Linked DNA regions of Homo sapiens: region 1 is linked to region 2. Evidence: promoter capture Hi-C in 16 types of primary human blood cells and fetal thymus (Javierre and others, 2016). All regions are on one chromosome and are shown on one strand. Each heading gives the region's core, a stretch centred on a gene start or on the middle of the fragment in contact. The rest is flanking DNA. Distances are from core to core; before and after follow the strand shown. Region 1 overlaps CLMP (CXADR like cell adhesion molecule). Region 2 holds the start of CRTAM (cytotoxic and regulatory T cell molecule).

The links. The method cuts DNA at HindIII sites, captures the fragments that hold promoters and counts their contacts. A CHiCAGO score of 5 or more calls a contact.
Region 1: a fragment that was not itself captured here is called in contact with the fragment with the promoter of CRTAM in region 2 in 1 of 17 cell types (naive CD8 T cells); the score reaches 5.0 in naive CD8 T cells.

Annotation. Positions count from the first base shown.
Region 1 is chr11:123,108,040-123,111,366 of GRCh38, reverse strand. The region is part of intron 1 of CLMP (CXADR like cell adhesion molecule); the gene reads left to right. Among named protein-coding and RNA genes, the nearest start is that of HSPA8, 48 kb to the right of the region's middle. The HindIII fragment of the contact is 3,337 bases long and covers 1-3,018 here.
Region 2 is chr11:122,837,202-122,840,418 of GRCh38, reverse strand. CRTAM (cytotoxic and regulatory T cell molecule) reads right to left here and starts at 1,919. Exons shown (of 10, transcript NM_019604.4): 1 at 1,827-1,919. The coding sequence starts at 1,872. The HindIII fragment of the contact is 4,925 bases long and covers 1,562-3,217 here.

The DNA of each region.
Region 1 (3,327 bases), core at 101-2,600, 270 kb before region 2:
CTGAGGTCAGGAGTTCCATGCCAGCCAGGCCAACACGGTGAAACTCCGTCTCTACTAAAAACACAAAAATGAGCTGGGTGTGGTGGTGTGCATCTGTAATCCCAGCTACTTGGAAGGCTGAGGCACTTGAACCCAGGAGGCAGAAGTTGCAGTGAGCCCAGATCGTGCCACTGCACTCCAGCTGAGGCACACACACACAAAAACCACACACACAATGGCACAAAACTAGACCTTTTGTATAAATTGTGTAAGCGCTCACTGATGGTGACAAAATACACCGACAGTATTTTACACTTGTATTTTATATTTCGCATCACATTCAACTAAGACAGGGCCTTGAATATACTGAGCACTCATAATTATTAGTAGTTCATAGAATATTATAGTTAGAAAAGACATTAAATATTGGGTTTAACATCCACATATAAGGACCCCTTTACAGCTACTCACACACTCTCATTTGAATGACTCCAGTAATGGAAAACTCACTAAACAGTAGAGCTCTTTCTCTTATCAGACAGCGCTGTTACAGAGTCAGTCAACATATTAAGCCCAAATGGCATAAGCCCTTTCCTTCCTTTCCCTCAACTTCTCCCTTTTCCCTCACTCCTTTTCCCCATCTTTCTCCTCCTCTAAAACTAACCCACAGACTGGGAAGGAAGTAGATGCTCAATATCCGGCCCCCCTTGACTGACGCCCGCAGCTCAGGTTGTCACCTTGGTCTTTGTACCAACACCATTTTTTTTTCTTTGAGAAGTTTCGGTCTGTTGCTCAGGCTGGAGTGCCGTGTTGTGATCTTGGCTCGCTACAGCCTGCACTTCCTGAGTTCCAGCAATTCTCCTGTCTAAGCCTCCCTAGTAGCTGGGATTACAAGCAGGAGTTACCACACCTGGCTAATTTTTTTTTTTTTTTTCTGACGGAGTCTCGCTCTGTCACCCAGGCTGGTGTGCAGTGACACAATCAGGGCTCATGGCAACTTCCACCTCTCGGGTTCAAGCGATTCTCCCATCTCAGCCTCCCAAGTAGCTGGAATTACAAGTGCCTGCCAACACGGCCGGCTAATTTTTGTGTTTTTAGTAGAGACGGGGTTTCACCATGTTGGGCAGGCTGGTCTCGAACTCCTGACCTTGTGATCTGCCCACCTCAGCCCCCCAAAGTGCTGGGATTACAGGCGTGAGCCATCGCATGGGCAACACCACTTATTTCAAGGACTCCAGGAAGAAATATCCCCTTTGGAGGGATGGAAGGAAATAACTAGGCACCATAATGATTCCGTAATTCTGACCAAAGGAACAAAATGCAGTAAACCTATTACTTGTTTTGTGGCCTTTTAAATGATGGAAGGTAGCTACAATGCTGCCCCTTGGTCTTCCATCTTCATAATTTGTTCACCTATAACTGCATTAGCTGTTCCTCATATATTTTTCTCACCCTATCATTTGCCGGTCATGACTCCCCGAATGCCCCTTTTTGTCAATGTCCTTCCCAGTTTTCAGCATCTAAAACTGAACACAGTTGCTCTGGATATGCTAGGTTGGCTAGTATAAAGTACAATGGAGATGTTACTCGGTGTTTGGAACATCGAACCTCTATAAATGCGGCCACATCATACTGGTGGTCAATAAATCTCTTGGTTCCCCATGTCCTCCAGGTCTTTCCCACCCTGGACTTGTGTCTCACTGAAACTTTAACATTTGCTTCCATTCAATTTCTTCTTGCTTTGGGTCAGAATCCCAGCCAGCAGGATAACTATGTACCTCAGGTGTGTCCAACCAGATTAGCTCTGCTACCTAGCTCTGTGCCATCCACATTTACAAACATGATCTCTGTGTTTCCAATCTGCCGGTTTCAAGGAAAAGACAATCATCTTCGGTGTGGGGAAGGAAAAATAATAAAAACTAGTGATGGAATATCGGCAGTGTGGCCTTAGCTGTGTGGTCATCCTCAGTCTTCTCTTCTCTAAAAGAGTTGATAACATTGGCTCTCACGGGCTCAGATCGATAACAAATGATAACATTTGAGTCACGGGTTCACATGAGATCATGCAGTTGAATCAGTTAATTGTTCATTGTTAAATTAATATCAGGTGTCAACGATCCTCTTTTGAAGGATTTGAAGGAGTAGGAGAGACTATCATCACCTTTGTATTCTTAACACCATCCTTGCCTGATAGGTGAAAAGCTCAGTGCAGTTTTTTAATGTGGATAAACACTTGCAAAGTTCCTACTGAGACAGTTTTTCACAGAGGGGAAGGGAGGCAACTCAACCATTTTTTTTCTTTCTTTCTTTTTTTTTTTTTTTTTTTTTGAGACAGAGTTTCACTCTTGTTGCCCAGGCTGGAGTACAATGGCGTGATCTTGGCTCACTGCAACCTCCGCCTCCTGGGTTTAAGCGATTCTCCTGCCTCAGCCTCCCAAGTAGCTGGGATTATAGGCATGCGCCATCACAACCTGCTAATTTTGTATTTTTAGTAGAGACAGGGTTTCTCCTTCTCCATGCTAGTCAGGCTGGTCTCGAACTCCCGACCTCAGGTGATCCGCCCGCCTCAGCCTCCCAAAGTGCTGGGATTACAGGCATGAGCCACCGCGCCCAGCCAAGTTGATCATTTTTAATCAGTTTGTGTTTAATCTGAAAACTTCTCCAACTATCTTCCATCAGTGTCAGGTTCTCCCTTTTCCTCATTCTCCTCCCTCCCACTCTCCTCCTTTTTCCTTCTCCCATCCCCCACTTCCCTTCCTCTTCCTTTCCTTTCCCTCACCTTCTCCCTTTTCCCTCATTCCCTTTCCCCATCCTTCTCCTCCCCTAAAACCAACCCACAGGCTGGGAAGGAGGTAGAAGCTCAATATCCGGCCCCCCTGACTGAAGCCCAAAGCTCAGGCTGTCACCTGGGTCCTTGTATCCACACCCCTAATATTAAGGACTCTAGGAACAAATATCCTCCTTGGAGGGGTGGGAGGAGATAACTAGGCACTGTATTGACTCCCAGATGTCTGAAATTCCACTGATAACTTGCAAGCTTCATTCCTTTGGCTTTAGGCTTTAAACTGTTTAAGTACCAAATATATGTTTGTATTTAAAAAGACAGTAAAATGTCAGGGATTTAGCAGCTCATAGTAAATATGGTCTTCTTCTTCTGAAGACTCTCATAAAAGGAGTGGACTGGAGAGGTTCTGGGGTTGGGCTGGGTGTGGGATTGGGAAAGCAAATGGCAGAGGAACTTCACTAGTTCGTGACAAGGGAGGCTAGGGGGAGCTGATCGGAGAGGACAGGTGGTGCCATTAGCTTCCAGGTGCTCCCTCCGTCTAGAATTCTTTTCCCTCCCTCTGT
Region 2 (3,217 bases), core at 670-3,169:
TAATTAGAAGTTTCATGAAATAAATACTTTTACTATGTGCTTTATAGGCTGGTATTTATGTTGTCATATTCTAGCTTTAAAACTTGGGCAGGTTACATAACTTCTTTTCTCATCTTTAAATTGGGGATATTAGTACCTACCTCAGTACTTCCGCTATGATTAAGTGTAATTAACACAAAGTACTCAGCACTGTGCATGAAACAATATTTTTCCTCTCTATATAAATAATATTTAAGTAATTTAGGTTTACCTTGAAACATAATTTTTGCTATTTATTTAAAAAATGTATTTTTATGAGTTATTTTTTATGAGGCAATAACTCAAAGCCTGAAAAAGTTAAGGTCAGTGAAAGGCTTTAAACTCTGGAAAAATTGAAATCATCCTAATTTTAGCTGTCTAAATGTACTCTTTTTGAATGTATTAGCTATTCTTTAAGCCACTTAATGAAGAAACTAATATTATTCATTACCAAAATTGAATCCTTATTAAGTGCCTCAGGGTACAGGGACCAAAAAAAGAAGGCATTAATTGAAGTATATAAAATAGGGAATTGAAGTACTATGTAAAATAGGAAATCGAGTTTTTTAAAGTAGCGTCCTTCAGATGCCATTCCAGATTAAATGTAGATTTAGAAGGATAGGTGCATTTCATGAAACAGAACTACAGTTTCAATATTTGGTAACAAACACACAAAAAGCAAAATTTTTGAGTGGATTTGTGAGGGATGTCCTTTGCATGAATCTGATACAATTGTAAGCAGAGACTGAGGGACAACAGGAGCCACTTCCTACACCCCTGCCCCCACTTTTGGGTAGAAAATAATTTGACCTGCTCCAAAAAGGTAACTGCTTCTATCCTTAATTTTCATAATGCTACATTAGGATTAAGCACTAAAATCCAAATTTGAAAATTATAGTAAAATGTAAAGTATAACTTACTCTTTAAAAATAAACACGAAGTTTTCATTGGTCTCATTATTACCTCTGAGCTAAATAAGTGTTGCACAGCGCTTTATCATTTTCAAAGTGCTTTCACATTTGAAATTTGATCCTTCTAACAATCCAGGGAGTTTGGTGGATCAAAAGTTTTTATCATTTTCATTTTAAGATGCAGAAACTGAGTTTCAAAGAGATTAAATCGTTTGGCTAAGATTTATACAGCAAGGAAATTTTAAAATTCAACGTGGAGGCCGGGCGCGGTGGCTTACGCCTGTAATCCCAGCACTTTGGGAGGCTGAGGTGGGCAGATCACGAGGTCAGGAGATTGAGACCATCCTGGCTAACACGGTGAAACCCCGTCTCTACTAAAAATATAAAAAAATTAGCCGGGCGTGGTGGTGGCGGGCACCTGTAGTCCCAGCTACTTGGGAGGCTGAGGCAGGAGAAAGGCGTGAACCCGGGAGGCGGAGCTTGCAGTGAGCCGAGGTCGTGCCGCTGCACTCCAGCCTGGGCGACAGAGCGAGACTGTGTCTCATAAATAAATAAATAAATAAAATAAAATAAAATTCAATACGGATGCTCTTTCAACTGGTATGCCCTTAAAAGACAGAGCCTAATAAGCTTGTTTCATCTTGCCGTAACATAGGACCCACAGAGACACACACTATAATGATCCTTTCTATACTCCTTAGCCATTGAACGAGAGATCAAATAAACGCAGTAACATCCCTCAGATGCATGATTTGAGCATGGCTTGGAAAGTATTAGCAGTTACCTGGGTTGTCTTCTACAGCAGCTCCTCTGTAAATGCAGTTGACTGACTGATAGGTAGATGTGGCAAAACATTAAGTCAGCTGAGCAACAACAAAAATAACTCTAAGTCCTTACCTTGCAAGGGGAACCATGCCAGCAAGCTGAGAACTCTCCACCACATACTGTGCTGTGCTGCTGTGGCACCTTTGTCAACTTCCTCTAGATTCTGAGACAAATGGAGCTGAGTAGTTTCTTTTAAAGGGGGAGAGGCAGTAGATCTGTGACCTCATGTGTATCAACTCCTCCATCTGTCTGGAAGCCCCCTCTTAGTTAGCTGCCCCCAGAACACCTCCTGGTGGAACATTTTGGGGACCACATGTATTATCTTGATGGCAGAGAGGTGTGAGTGATGTGTTGGTGACAAAAATTGTTTTACCACAAGTGGGTAGTACTGGTAAATCAACTAGTTGCAAGGTTTTTAGAGGGAGCATGGGTGGGAGAAATACTGTAAAATGTCCCTGTGTAGTGACGTCATCCTTATTTTTACTTTTCTAGTTTATTAGATAAATACAATTAGATAATTTTTGCTCAACCTTTGGGAATATTTTATTTCTATGCTGACATCAATTTATAATTGTTGTCGGGGAGGAATTCATTCATTCATATAGATATACTCATTTTTGAAATCTATATATCTGTCCACCCACCCATCCACCCATCTTTTCATCCACCCACTCACAAATACAAATCTATTCATCCACCTATCCATCCATCCATCCTTCCATCCATCCACCCACACATCCATCCACCCATCCATTTATCCTTCCATCCACCCACTCACTCATGTATTACCTGCCCACTCATTCCCCATCCACCCATCCATCCATCTATTCATCCACACATCCATCCATCTCTCCATCCATCCAGCCAGCCAGCCATCCATCTATTTATCCATCCATCTATCCATCTATCCATCCATCCATCCATCCATCCATCCATCCATCCATCCATCCATCCATCCATTTATCCACCCATCCATCCATTCACCCATCCATCTATCCATCCATCCATCCGTCCATGACCTATTCATTCACCCACCCATCTATCTATACATGCAAATACTCATCCATCCACCCAACCACCCATCTATCTATCCACCCACGCATTCATCCATTCACCCACTCATTCATCCATTTACCCACCCATCTATCTATACATATGTCCGTCCGTCCATCCATCCATCCATCCATCCATCCATCCATCCTTCTATCCACCCATTCATCTTGTCACCTGTACAGCATCTAGTATGCACTACTTTGAGACATGCTCAAATAAAAAACATAAATTCCTTGTTTTTCAGGAGAATATAATCTAGTGGGGGAGACAATGTACATATGAACAGTTCTGGTATTTAATTTTCATTAATTGGACAAATTGAGATAGATTTAATGTAGTTTTTCCAGGAGCACACAGTAAAATATTAGTAAGTTTATGTTTAGAAAACAGAGATCAGTCTGCAATGCTTG